Linked DNA regions of Homo sapiens: region 2 is linked to region 1. The links are contacts of gene promoters, found by promoter capture Hi-C in human tissues and cell types (Jung and others, 2019). All regions are on one chromosome and are shown on one strand. The core of a region is centred on a gene start or on the middle of the fragment in contact, and the rest is flanking DNA. Distances in the headings are between cores, read along the strand shown.

Region 1 (7,289 bases), core at 1-2,500:
GAGCTCAGGAGTACAAGAACAGCCTGGGCAACACAGTGAGACCTCCTCTCTACAAAAAATACAAAAATTGGCCAGGCGTGGCCAATAATACCACCTTCTTGGGAGGCTGACGTGGGAGGATCGCTTGAGCACGGGAGGCGGAGGCTGCAGTAGCTGAGATGCTGCCCACTGCACTCCAGCCTGGGCGACAGAGCGACACCCTGTCTCAAACAACAATAAAATAAATAAATGCCTGGCTCAGTTGACACTCTTCCTCTTCCGCCCCAACACTGATGGGACCCGGACAGTTCTGAGCCCTGCCTGAATGCTGCTGCCCCATCTCTATGACCGCGGGAACTGTCTAGATTTCACACCCAGTGTCAAACATGCCCTCGGCCAAAGTCGGAATTGAGTCTGGGTCACCCGTCCAAGACGCTGGTCCCTGCTCCACCGCTGCTACTACAAAGGGACTGAGTCTAGCTTCCAGCCAGGCCTTCGGGAGGCACTCCAGGCGGGGACTAAGCGCAGTCTCGCCAGGCTGCAGAACCAGTGGCCAGCAAAGGCGGCCCCCGCCGGAGCCCTGGATTCAATTTGCTGTTGTTCATTCCGAGAAATTCGGAGACTGGGGCCACGCTGGCTTTCCCGGCGCGGGCGCGCGGGTGGGGGAGGTGGCGCAGCCGAGGTTACCGGCTTCACGGAGGGGCACCGAGTGTCCTCTCCCGGAGAGGGGTGTCCCGGCGGCCAGGACGCCAGGAGGGGTGCCCCCCGTCTTCCTGCTGCTGCCCAGCTCCTGTCTGGAACTCCTGGCCGCCCATCCCAGCCCCGCTGCGGGCTCCCAGCGGGCCCCTCTAGCCCTGGGCACCCCGCAAGACCCCCACCTGGGGCACCCGCAGGTTCCCACCTGATCTGAGCACTCCGCATATCCCACCCACCAGGAGCACCCCGCAGATTCCCACCCACTCTGAGCACCCGGCAGATTCCCCCCACCCCACGATCCGGGAGTCCCCCAGCCCCCACATGCTGCGGCTGCGCCCGCGTCCCGCCGCGGAGGCCCAGGCCCGGCTCACCTGGCGGGGCCGCGGCGGCGGCGGCGAAGACTCCGAGCAGCAGCAGCAGCGACCACAGCAGCGTCGGTCGCATGGCCCCGGGCGCTCGGCGGCGGCTCAGGTCGCGGCCGGGGCCCCGCTCGGGGTCCGCGGAGCCGCTCACGTCGCCGCCCAAACCGCCATGGCGAGCGCAGGGCGCGCAGGGCCCGCCTCTTCCCGAGCAGCAGCGGGGCGTCCCGGTGGAGGGGATTCGGCTCGGCCGCCCGCGCCCCCGCCCCCGCCCCGTCCCGCCCCCGAGGCCACCGCCCCCGCGCGGGACTTTCCCGCTCCGGGAACCGCGGCCCTGGGGGGCCTCTGCGGCTGCAGCGCGGGGACCCCACGCAGCCGGCCTCCCAGAGCGCGGAGCCTCCCGGAACGTCCTGGAGACTGGAGCCCCGCGGGACGCCCACCTTCGGGGGCCGCGATCCTTCCGGAAGGGCCCCGCGAGACCCCGGCCCAGACCCCCGGGCTTTCCCTGGAGCCCCCACCCCTCCTGACCCCCCCCAACTCTCCTCTCGGGTGCTTGATCGCACAATTCGAGGATTCGCCCCTTTAGTCGAAATGTTTGCTTTAATAGCCCCCAAAGTACATATTAAGCTTTCAACTCTCCCCCGCCCCCCTCCCCTTTTTTTTGAGACGGAGTCACCAGGCTGGAGTGCAGTGGGGCGATCTCGGCTCACTGCAACCTCCGCCTCCAGTCAACCCCATTTTGAAAAGGGTTTTAAGGGGAAGGAGTTAGAAAGGGCCCAGTGAAGGAGGAGGTGGGGCTCTGGGGGTGGGGGGAATGGCCTCCGAGCAGGGGGAGGGAGAGACAGAAACTTCCAGCATTTCTAAATGGCGTGGGGTTTGCCCTGGAGCCGGCGGCGGTGCACGAGTAGGAAGTCCTTTAGCAGCTGGGCAGCCGCAGGCCCGCTCCCCAGCCCGAGCCTGCACCATGTCGTTTGACGCCTGTTGGGAGAGGGTTTTAAATCTGCCCTGTTCTTCCAAGATGCGTCATAAAGCTAGCGCAGCAAAGGAGGGACGCGGTGCAGGGAGACCAAGAATTTAAAAACAGGTCGTCCCGGGAGCCCACTGGACACGTTAGCAAAAATGGGTTTTGCAACATAGAGCTTTTCTTTTGCTCTTCCCACATTCTTGCATTTCCTCTTTGTAGAACTATTTTGAAATTGGCCACGCTCGTGAAAATACGTGATGAAATACCTCGCAGACAATTGAATTATGCATTGGATATTTCTAGATACAGAGATGTATTTATATGTTACACGAAAAAAGCGGGCGATAACTTGGAATCACTTCAAAAAGTATGCACTGATGCCAGGCGCGGTGGCTCACGCCTGTAATCTCAGCACTTTAGGAGGCCGAGGTGGGCGGATCACATGAGGCCAGGAGTTGGAGACCAGCCTGGCCAATATGGCTGAAACCCGTCTCTACTAAAAATACAAAAATTAGTCAGGCGTGGTGGCCGGCGCCTGTAATCCCAGCTACTTGGAGGGCTAAGACAGGAGAATCACTTGAACCCGGGAGGCGGAGGTTGTAGTGAGCGGAGATTGCGCCACTGCACCCCGGCCTGGGTGACAGACCGAGACTCCGTCTCAAAAAAAAAAAAAAAAAAAAAAAAAAAAAAAAAAAAAAAAGGCACTGAAAATGACAGGATTGCAAGAAGGATTCTGTTTTCAAACAAATAAATAAAATTACAAGAAAACGACTGGGTGAAAGATGCCAACATTCTAACAAGAAATCGGTTACAGGATCACACAAGTGTCATCCGCCTCAGGGGATGTAACCGAATGCTGGTTCAGTCGCTGGCTGCTTGCAGAGTCTAACAAGAGCAAGATGTGGTGGAAAGAAAGTGACTTTATTTCCAAAGCTAGCAAGGGGAAGTGGTTGGATTCCTATCCCCAAAGCAATCACGTTGAATTGTGGGGTATGGGGAGTGGGAAAGGCAAGGGTTATTTATTTTATTTATTTATTTATTTATTTATTTATTTATTTATTTATTTATTTGAGACAGAGTCTCCGTCACCCAGGCTGGAGTGCAGTGGTGTGATCTCCGCTCACTGCAAGCTCCGCCTTCTGGGTTCACACCATTCTCCTGCCTCAGCCTCCCGAGTAGCTGGGACTGCAGGCGCACGCCACCACACCCGGCTAATTTTTTGTGTTTTTTGTAGAGATGGGTTTTCACCGTGTTAGCCAGGTTGGTCTCGATCTCCTGACCTCGTGATCTGCCTGCCTCGGCCTCCCAAAGTGCTGGGATTACAGGCGTGAGCCACCGCGCCCGGCCAAGGCAAGGGTTTAAAACGGGAAAACGATGTGGAAGTCAGGCAAGGATTATGCTAAGTACACTGTCTGTTTGTCTTGTTCCGGTGGCTGTCTTGGGTCCTAGTCCACAGGAAGCCTGTGGTCTGGCATCATCTCAACAATGGCTGGATTCTTAATTAGACGCCTTGAGGTCACATGTGGAATTTTGCAGAAGAATCTCCAGGCTTGGTCTGTCTGTCTCAAGATTAGCGTCTGGAACCTCTAAGAAGGCACGTAACTAGACACGGGCATACAGTTAGATAAATGTGAAGGGAGTTTATACGGTGAAGAAGGGAGGGACATGGAGTCCATTTTAAGGCTAAGGGAAAAGGCTTCTGCAGTTTGTTTCAAGGTTACATCTTTGATGGCTGGGTGCGGTGGCTCACGCCTCTAATCCCAGCGCTTTGGGAGGCTGAGCCAGGTGGATCACCTGAGATCAGGAGTTCAAGACCAGCCTGGCCAACATGGTGAAACTCGTCTCTACTAAAAATACAAAAATTAGCCAGGCGTGGTGGCATGTGCCTGTAATCCCTGCTACTTGGGAGGCTGAGACAGGAGAATCACATGAACCCAGGAGGTGGAGGTTGCCGTGAGCTGAGATCATGCTGCTGCACTCTAGCCTGAGCCACAGAGCAAGACTCTGTCTCAAAAAAAAAAAAAAAATTGTAACCTGTATATCATTCTAAAGAAATACTTTTGGCCAGATGTGGTGGCTCACACCTGTAATTCCAGCACTTTGGGAGGCCGAGGTGGGTGGATCACCTGAGGTCAGGAGTTCAAGACCAGCCTGGCCAACATGGTGAAACCCCATCTCTACTAAAAATAGAAAAATTAGCCAGGCATAGTGGCAGGTGCCTGTAATCCCAGCTACTTGGGAGGCTGAGGCATGACAATTGCTTGAACCTGGGAGATGGAGGTTGCAGTGAGCTGAGACAGCACCACTGCACTCCAGCCTGAGTGCAGAGTAAGGCTCCATCTCAAAAAAAAAAAAAAAAGAAAAGAAAAAGAAATACTTTTGTGCCTAATTTTATAGTGAGTTGTGTATTTGTTTATAAAGAGGGCTCCATCTATTATATACACTTCAGCCCTACAAACCCTGAATCTGCACCATCCCTTTCCATTAATTCCTTACCTTGTAATCAGTTGATCTTCCTGAAGCATTTCTAATAGCCTAGAGGGACTCCTCTCACCTCCCTCAGGAGAGTGGGTGGGGGATGGCAGAAAGAAGCCAACATTTTTTGCTGGCCAGTGGTGCTTCTCTAGGTATTATAACACTCAGACCTCCCAGTTAGGCAGGCGATGGCTGTCCCATGGGGACACTAGCAGAGTTCAGTGACTTGGCCTGTGGTGGGTTTGCACTGCAGTAGGTCTGCTAAACTGTAACTGCATTTCCTAGAATTCCCCTCCCTGAAAAGTTCTGAGGTAACATGGGCAGGGAAGGATGTTTGTGTGTGTCTTGGTCCATTTTCTGTTGCTTATAACAGAATATCTGAAGCTGGGTAATTGATAAAGAAAAGGCATTTATTTCTTACATTTTGGGAGGCTGAGAAGTCCAAGGTCTAGGGACTAAATCTGGTGAGGGCCTTCTTGCTGGTGGAGATTCTCTGCAGAGTCATGAGGTGGTCAGGGCATCACATGGCAAGGGGGGCTGAGGGTGCTAAGGTGCTCGGATTTATCTTCCTCTTTTTTTTTTTTTTCTTTTGAGATGGAGTATCACTCTGTTGCCTAGGCTGGAGTGCAATGGTGCAATCTTGGCTCACTGCAACCTCTGCCTCCTGGGTTCAAGCAATTTTCCTGCCTCAGCCTCCCAAGTAGCTGGGATTACAGGCACCTGCCACCACACCCGGCTAATTTTTGTATTTTTAGTAGAGTTGGTGTTTCACCTGTTGCCCTGGTCTTGAACTACTGACCTCAAGTGATCCACCTGCCTCGGCCTCCCAAAGTGTTGGGATTACAGGAGTGAGCCACCATGCCCATCCCCTCTTTTATAAAGCCACCAGCCCCACTCCCATGATAACCATTGGTCCATGAACCCATTAGTCCATGAATGAATCCACCCATCCATGAGGGCAGGATCACCATAACCAATCACCTCTGAAAGGCCTCATTCCTCCATACTGCCATATTGGGAATCAAATTTCCAGCACGTGAAATTTGGGGACACATTCAAACCCTAGCAATGTGCGAGACTTGGAAGATGGAAGGAAAGGTGCAGCCATATTCCTTTACCCTTGGGAGGCTGGGGCAGGGCACAAGGCATCCATCTTTGCAGCTCCCGACCTGTGGCTTCTCTGCTGATGTCCTAGATGGCAGGGATGCAGACAGGCTCCAGGCTCCTCCAGCTCCCCGTGGATCTCATGTGGTCGTGTAAGCTGGAGGTGTGGAGATGGAGAGCAGGGTGAGGAGGGTGGCAGCTGAGCCTTAGATTTCAGCTTGTCCCTGCTTCCTCCATCTCTTGTCCACCTTCTCTTCCCGGCCTCCTGCCCTGAGGACTTCAGGCTCCAGCACCGGACAGGGGAAAATTGTCTCTCCTGGACTGTGCACACATCTCTCATGTTTATGTGAGGTCAAATCTCTGTAATATAACAACACACACACACACACACACACACACACACGCACACACACACACACACACATCACATCACATGATGGTTTTGCTTGTTGGATCAAAATCTGGCTGAGCATGCCCCAAATCACACAGCCAATGAGTGGCAGTGTGGGCTCCTAGCCAGGCCTGTCTAGTGCCAAAGCCCCCTGCATTTCACAGCAAACTTCTCATCATGCTGTTCAGTTTTCTCGTAATGAGACCCAGCTCTGTGCCCAGTCAAGCGCTCCACAGCTCCCCATGACCCGGCTATTCCATCAGTGAGTCTTTGAAATTGTACTTCGTGAAGGTCACATGTGCCCTACTTGTCTGCCTCTTCCTCTGCTGTTCACCCCACCTGTTTGCGCCTCTCCCTGCCTTCATCTACAACGCCTCCCCCAACCCCCACTCCTGCCATACCCACAGTCCAAATTCTACAACTTCTGGACTCCATTTCCTGAGAACTCTGTTGCCTTCTCTGACTACCATCTTCCACTGTTTGCTGCCATTTTGTGTCATCGTTGGTGTCCGTGGGGATTGACATAGCCAAAGGCAGGGCCGCTGACACCTGTGAGTGGGTAGGTGAGTGTCTTCCCTGGATTCAACAGAGCTGTAAGAGGTCCGAGCTCAAAGTAGGCCTTGATCATTACCAAGTGGGGCCCTGATATGTGACTTGGTGCCCCCTTGTTTCAAGAAATTCCAGGATCAAGGTCAGAGGAATTGGCATGTTAGCGAAAGGATGAATTCCCTTAGGTCTCCGGTGATGGGCTGGGTTTTTCTTGCTGTTTGTCATGGGCCACAGCCCCCTCCTTTCACCAGCCTACACTTGTTGCATTTCTACTTCCCCAGTGGGGCCATCATAAAACATCATTCCAGTAATGCCAAGTCTTCTCTAGTCTTTTGCCTCCTGTCTGGGACCCTCACAAGAGTAACTATTACACATACAGCATTCTATATTTAATTCCTCCTGAAAACAGGGAATGAATGATATCCTGATTTTTTTTTTTTTTTTTGAGACAGAGTCTTGCTCTGTCACCCAGGCTGGAGTGCAGTGGCACAATCTCGGCTCATTACAACCTCCGCCTCCTAGATTCAAGTGATTCTCGTGTCTCAGCTTCCCGAGTAGCTGGGATTACAGGCGCCCACCACCATGCCTGGCTAATTTTTGTATTTTTAGTAGAGACGGGGTTTCACCATGTTGGCCAAACTGGTCTTGAACCCTTAGCCTCATGTGATGTGCCCGCCTCAGCCTCCCAAAGTGCTGGGATTACAGGCGTGAGCCACTGCGCCCGGCCGATATCCTGAAATTTGTCAGGGAGAAGAGACAACAGGCAGAGAAA
Region 2 (7,289 bases), core at 1,640-4,139, 140 kb after region 1:
GAGGCTCAGAAAGGCTAAGTCAAATGCCTAGGGTCACACAGGGAAACTGTGGGAGTTGGATCCCTGAGTCCCAGTCCTTAAACTGGTTGCTACATGACATTCTAGAACCTCTCCCCACCAACTCCCTTTTTAAAGACAGGGTCTGGTTCTGTCACCCAGGCTGAAGTGCAGTGACATGATCTTGGCTCACTGCAACCTCCGCTTCCTGGGCTCAAGCCATTCTCCCACCTCAGCCTCCCAAGTAGCTGGGACAACAGGCACATGCCACTACGCCCAGTTAATTTTTCTAATTTTGTTTTGTAGAGACAGATTTGCCATGTTGCCCAGGCTGGTCTCGAATTACTGGCCTCAAGCGATACGCCTGTTTAGGCATCCCAAAGTGCTGGGGTTACCGGCAGGAGCAATTGCTCCGGGCCAGACTTCCCTTCCCCCGCCCACACCCCCCCAACCCGGCCTAGATCCACAGGCACTGTAATCACAGCTGACACACTCGACTCGGAATCAGCATAGAGAGCACTCTGAAAATTGTCAAATAGGGTCCCTGAAACTTGTATACCATACTTCTCCTGAAGATCTTGAAGCATCTTTGTGTTTGCTTTTTTTTTTTTTAACTTAAAATATGGCATTCAGGTTTTATCCCTCTCCCCGACGCCATGTTTCCTTTCTGTATTAGTCACACACGTGATCCTAAAGTCTGTCTTCCCCACTTTAACTGGGGAGGGCTGGACAAGGTGGAATTCCAATTGCAGGAGACAGGATGTGACATGGGTGAGGTGCCCAAGGCTCACCGACTGAAACTTCGATGGCTCTTCCCTGTTTCCTTGTGCAGGGCCCCCCTTCTCTCCACTGCTCACCTGGCTCTCCTCCTCCCTTCCTGCCTGCTTTGCAGCTCTTGCTACTATTTTCCTTTTCTTTCCCTGCTCCCACCCTGGCCCAATTTATTTCACAGAAATATCACAGGGCCAGCCAGGCACAGCGGCTCACCCCTGTAATCCCAGCACTTTACGAGGCTGAGGAGGGCAGATCACTTGAGGTCAGGAGTTTGAGACCAGCCTGGCCAACATGGTAAAATCCTGTCTCTACTAAAAATACAAAAATTTGCTAGGCATGGTGGCAGGCGCCTGTAATCCCAGCTACTTGCGAGGGAGGCTGAGGCAGGAGAATCACTTGAACCTGGGAGGCGGATGTTGCAGTGAGCCAAGATCACACCATTGCGCTCCAGCTTGGGCGACAGAACGAGACTCTGTCTCAAAAAAAAAAAAAAAAAAGAACGAAAGAAGAGAAATATCATAGGGTCCTGGACCACCTCTGAAACTGTGGGGAACCCTGCTCCCTGGTAGACATGATGCAGAAACATCCTAAGTGCATTAGTGTAAAGGAAAGGTGCACATGTGCTTCCTTCAAAGTGCACCACTTTGAATATGTAAACAATGCACTGAATGATACTATGGTCCCCATACTGGGAATGTGCATAGGTGATGTCACCTGGAAGAAAGGAACACCACAGTTTCCTCCTCCTTCCCTTGGAGAACACTTGCAGACGATAAGGCAGCAAGTTAGGATGCAGAGACAAAGAACCCTGTAGGTGCTTGTCTGTCCAAGTTCATTCAATAGTTTTGGAGTCATCTCATTATATAACCATCCCCAAGGTCAACATCTGACTCAGAAGTGTCACTTTGATCAGATGGAGCATCTTCGGACCACAGGCCCTCTGAAGAGGGGCTGGGAAAGGTTGGCTGTGTCCCTTCCCCGCTGGCCAGCAAATGGTTTGATTGCACATTATCAGGATCCTCTGGGTCAACCATCTCTTCCAGATGAGACGATAGCATCAGAGGGGCTTCTAAGTCGTCACTGTCCTCGTCATCAAGAACTCTCAAAAACACAGAGTTTAAGTCCACATTGAAGGTAATTCTGCCCCCAGACCCCTCCGTGGAGCTGTAGTCCTCTTCGGGAAAAGGGTCCTGGAGTGGACTCTTTCTCCTCTCACAGGGCCCACTCAAGAGTTCCAACTGCTGAGGGCTGTCCTTTGGCATCGTGGGGAGCTCCACATCAACCTCAGGCAGGTCAGGCTCCTCCTCGGACTCCGGGTCTATCAACTGGGATTCTGTAGAGGTGGCAGAGGCCTGACCCAGAGGCCTGACAGTCAGTCCATGCATGGTATAGCCACCGCCACTTGTCCTGGGCGCTGCCTCAGTATCGCTATCACTTTCATCATCATAATTATAATCCCACACTTTCTTCTTTCTGTTGATGTAAATGACCTCCACCATATCCATGGCTTCCAACGGTGGCAGGTTAGGAAATGGCCAGGCTAAAAAGTTATGAAAATTCTTAAAAAAAAAAAAAAAGAGAGAGAGAGTCCGTATCAGCTGTACTGTTTGCTCTTTATTTTCTACATAATAAAACTTAATCACTGGGGCACAGGGATGCACGCTTGTAATCCCAGCTACTGGGGAAGCTTAGGCAGGACGACTGTTTGAGCTCAGGAGTTTCAGACTGTAGTGCATTATGACTGCACCTGTGAATAGCCACTGCATTCCAGCCCTTAGCGAGACCTTGCCTCTAAAAAAATAAAAAATAAACTTAATGAGATTGAATGATGATGCAGTTGATGATGATGACAGCAATAATAACAGCTAACAGTTACACCATGCTTACTATATGCTGGGCATGACTCTTGGTGCTTTATATATAATTTACCTTTCCCTTGCAACTGCTCTATGAGGTATGCTTACTATTTTTTTTTTTTTTTTTTTTTGAGACGGGAGTCTCGCTCTGTTGCCCAGGCTGGAGTGCAGTAGTGCGGTCTTGGCTCACTGCAACCTCCACCTCCCAGGTTCAAGCAATTCTCTGCCTCAGCCTCCTGAGTAGCTGGGATTACAGGCGCCCGCCACTATGCCCGGCAAATTTTTGTATTTTTAGTAGAGAAGGGGTTTCACCATGTTGGCCAGGCTGGTCTTGAACTCCCGACCTCGTGATCTACCTGCCTTGGCCTCCCGAAGTGCTGGGTTTATAGGCGTGGCCACCGCGCCTGGCCAGGCTTACTATTCTTATGCCCACTTTACAGATGAGAAAATGAGGTGCAGAAGTTAAGAAACTTGCTCAAGGTTTGTGACTAGTGAGTGGGAGCAGCTGCCTTTCAAACCAGGCAGGCTGCTGGCCACATAGACTATGTTCTGACTTACTCCTCTTAACTTCCTCTCCTTTGGCTGCTTCTTTATATTTTTAAGATATTTATATATTTTTAGAGCTAGGGTCTCACTCTGTAACCGAGGCTGGAGTGCAGTGGCGCAATCACAGCTCACTGCAGCCTCCACCTCCTGGGCTCAAGCAATCCTCTCACCACATCCTCCTGAGTAGCTGAGACCACAGGCATGTGCCAGCATGCCTGGCTAATTTATTTTTATTTTCTCTAAGACAAGGTTTCCTTATATTGCCCAGGCTGGTCTCAAACTCCTGGGCTCAAATGATCCACCCGCCTCAGCCTCCCAAAGTGCTGAGATTACAGGCGTGAGCCACTGTGCCTAGTCCTTTTTAAATCTTTTTATAGGATAAATCCACTTTGTGTATATGTTCCACTGACATAATCCAAAACAAAAAGACGATCCATATAAAAATGTTTATTGTACTATTCATCATCACCAAAGAAAAGAAAAGGAAAAGAAATCCAAATGCCCTTTAGCTGAGAAATGGTTAAATGAAAAATGGTATGTTAATAATAATGAAATTCTACCTGATCATTATAAATTATGTGATGAAGTATAAAAACAAAACAAAACAAAACATTGCTGAGTGCAGTGGCTCACACCTGTAATCCCAGAACTTTGGGAGGCCAAGGCAGGTGGATCACTTGAAGTCAGGAGTTCAAGACCAGCCTGGCCAACATAGCAAAACCCCATCTCTACTAAAAATGCAAAAATTAGCCAGGTGTGGTAGCACACGCCTGTAGTCCCAGCTACTTGAGAGGCTGAGGCACGAGAATTGCTTGAGCCTAGGAGGCAGAGGTTACAGTCAGCTGAGATCACGCCACTGTACTCCAGCCTGGGTGACAGAGTGAGACTGTCTCAAAAAAAAAAAAAAAAAAAAAGGAAAGAAAACATAAAATGCACAGATGCACAGATACACTTACAACTGCACATGTATATATATGTAACTAACCTGCACACTGTGCACATGTACCCTAAAACTTAAAAGTATAATAAAAACAAAAACAAAACAAAAACCCTGCAAAATATACATTTATAGATATGGAAAAGAACTCAGAGTGAGAAAGCATTTTGGTGTTTATAGAAAATGAGATTTTCTTCTGTGAAAATATTTATATAAATACAAATTCTTAAGTTAAAATAAAAAACAAAGATAGAAAAAACAAAACAAAACAAAAAAACTACCTACCAAGACTTTGGGGAGGCTATTTCTTAAGCATATATAACCAATCCATTTCAGTGTCACTATGGTGCTTGTCAAGACCAATGCTATCAAAAACACAGTAATTATTCCTCCTATTTTGGCAGATTCTGCTGATTCTGTTGATGAAAAATTAAATGACTTTATTTCAAAAAATGCAATAAACAATTGCAGATGGAAATAAATGTACATTGGCCTGGTGTTACAAGATGATCAAGAAACCAAAGGTTTGAAAAAACAGTTTTATATTGAGAAATACCAGAGACTGGAGAATTATCTAAGTGTGCATTTTTTAAACAATAAAATAGACTTAGCTTTTAAAAGTAAAATTTCCTTCAGTTTATGTTCTATAACTGCACTGTACAGTGGAGTAGCCACTGGCTGCAGCTGGCTGAATTTAAATGATTAAAATTAAACAGAATTAAGAGCTCGGTCTCTCAGTCACATGAAACACATCTCAAACGTTCGGTAGCCACACTGGTTAGCATGCGCTGCGGGCAGGAAGAAGTGGGGAAGGAAAGTTTGCTTGAAAACAACCAACTGGGTCATTCTGAGGCTGGACTTTAGCCACGCTGGGGCCACAAGTCAGGGCTCTGCAGAACCTGCCTTGCTCTATTAACAGTTCCCCTTAGTTTCTCATCAAAATTCCTTTTGGAAAATTTCAGCTTTTTGACTGACCATAGTTATTTTCCTGAAGTGCGACCAGACTGAAAAATCAGTAGTTATATCACTAAGGCTCTCTTGCACTTCCAGAAAGGTCTTCATTAGTATTAATCCTCGAACTATAGCCTCAGGCAAAAATAGATAGAGGGGAGAAAAAAGGAAATCAAATGGATTATGTACTCTAAGTCTTCCAGAAGGTTAAGGAATGAATAGAAAGAAGTTCAGTAAAAACCCTTGATAGTTCAGTAAAAACACTGTTAGATAGCACAGGGTTCAAGAATCCACTCTCACCTCCATCAAGAGTGTGAAGGATTGGATTGTCATATCAATGACAGTTCCAGAATCAGATCTAGCCACAGAGGCACGCCTTTAGGATACAAAATTCTGACATGTATAGCGTTTACATTCTTGAAAGGGGTACTGTAAACCAAAGTGATTTCACTGGTGAAGGAATGGCATAATACAGAGATTGTGACTCATGTACCCATCCAACTTGCATATAACAGCTACAATGCACTCTATGTCCAAACCAAATTGTGTAAATTGTAGTTAATATGCTAGGATAATATTCCTCAATTTGGGGTATTCTCATGAGTCTGAGAATTCTTTAGGAGAACTTAGAATTTTTGTTTGTTTTCAGCTTGATGATAATCTAAAAAATAGAAATCTCACTTGGGGTCATGACAATTATACATGCATGCTATTTTTAAATATTCATATTTGAAAAGAGATGAATCCCATCAATGTTCTGACTCAGAAAGGAGAAGCTGTGATTGAATGTTACTGCTGTTAACTATCTTCTTCATGAAAGATGGACCAGATCAACCCATCTTGGGAAGGAGAGACCAGGTCGTGTCTTAAAAATTTGGCCTTGGACAAACCTGTCTGTCTCTGGATTCACTGTGGAGATATTTTAAGCAAAAAATAAGAAACCTCACAAGCAGAGGGCTGAACTGAGCAACGGGGTTGGTAATATCTGATCACAATGATCTTTAATGGAAAAGATAAAGAACTTTATGAAAAGACTGGCGATGACTAACATCAGTCTCTTATAGTTCCTCCCGTACTTACCTCTCTGGAACAAGTAAGACCGCCTCTCCCCTGGGTGACTGCAGTAATCAGCCCAGGGGTCACCTGGCTCCCACTTCAAGGCATGTGGATGGATGTTCCCTTTACATCCCACGTCAGATCACGGAGAGCAACCTGCTCACAACCCTCTGAGGGTCCCCATCTCTTGCAACGGCTTCTAAGTTCTATGTCATTCAGGCTCCTCCATCTTTTCTGACCAGAACTGTTACTATTCTTCCCTTGTTCAGTTCACTCCTGCCGTGCCGTGCCAGGCATATCCTGCCTCGGGCACTTGGCACTTGCTGAACCCCGCATATGGAACTCCTTCCCCTGATAGGTTTGCGTGACTCACTCCCTCACCTTGTGTTTGTTTCCCATTGCCACCGTAACAAATGATGCAAAGTTAGTGTCATAAAACAATATAAATATATTATATTAATAGTTCTGGAGATCAGAAATCCAAAATGGGTTTCACTGGGATAAAAAATATCAAGATGTTGGCAGGACTGAACTCCTTATGGAGGCTCTAGGGGAAAACCCATTTCTTTGCCTTTCCCAGCTTCTAGAGGCCACTTGCATTCCTTTGCTCATGGCCCCCTCCTTCATCCTCACTCTGCGACCTCTGCTGCTGCTGTGAGAGCTCCTTCTCTGCCTCTGAGTCTCCTGCTTCTCTTTTTGTTGAGACACAGTCTTGCTCTGTAGCTCAGGCTGGAGTACAGTGGTACCATCTTGGCTCACTGCAACCCCCACCTCCCGGGTTCAAGAGATTCTCCTGCCTCAGCCTCCCAAGTAGCTGGGACTCCAGACGCATGCCACCACGCCTGGCTAATTTTTGTATTTTTAGTAGAGATGGGGTTTTACCACGTTGGCTAGGCTGAACTCGAACTCCTGACCTCAGGTGATTCACCTGGCTCGGCCCCCCAAAGTGCTGGAATTACAGGCATGAGCCACTGCGCCTGGCCAAGATCTTCAATTTCATCACACCCACAAGCCCCTTTGGCATAGAGGTTAGCCTGTTCACATATCTGGGATTAGGATGTAGACATCTTTGGGGGCCATTATTCTGCTTACCACATCTCCCTTGGGTCTTTATTCAAATGCTACCTTCTCAGGAAGGCCATCTGTGGCCATCTGTGGTGGATGCTGTGGGT

The links. The method cuts DNA at HindIII sites, captures the fragments that hold promoters and counts their contacts. A contact is called where the count stands out against the background at its distance.
Region 2: a fragment that was not itself captured here is called in contact with the fragment with the promoter of IFNGR2 in region 1 in 1 of the 25 tissues and cell types used here (spleen).

What each region holds. Positions count from the first base shown.
Region 1 is chr21:33,397,374-33,404,662 of GRCh38, reverse strand. It overlaps IFNGR2 (interferon gamma receptor 2), which reads right to left and starts at 1,250. Exons shown (of 7, transcript NM_005534.4): 1 at 1,047-1,250. The coding sequence starts at 1,119. RefSeq lists cis regulatory regions at 151-651, 1-680, 1,248, 1,525, 1,535 and 2 more, silencers at 682-731, 872-921, 942-1,021, 1,032-1,571 and promoters at 1,126-1,530, 1,125-2,292, 1,664-2,302, 1,146-2,302. The HindIII fragment of the contact is 6,342 bases long and covers 1-4,510 here.
Region 2 is chr21:33,257,834-33,265,122 of GRCh38, reverse strand. All of the region lies in intron 7 of IFNAR2-IL10RB (IFNAR2-IL10RB readthrough), which reads right to left. IFNAR2 (interferon alpha and beta receptor subunit 2) reads right to left here. Exons shown (of 9, transcript NM_001289125.3): 8 at 4,396-4,526; 9 at 1-2,330. The coding sequence ends at 1,623. Among named protein-coding and RNA genes, the nearest start is that of IL10RB-DT, 4.8 kb to the left of the region's middle. The HindIII fragment of the contact is 4,422 bases long and covers 679-5,100 here.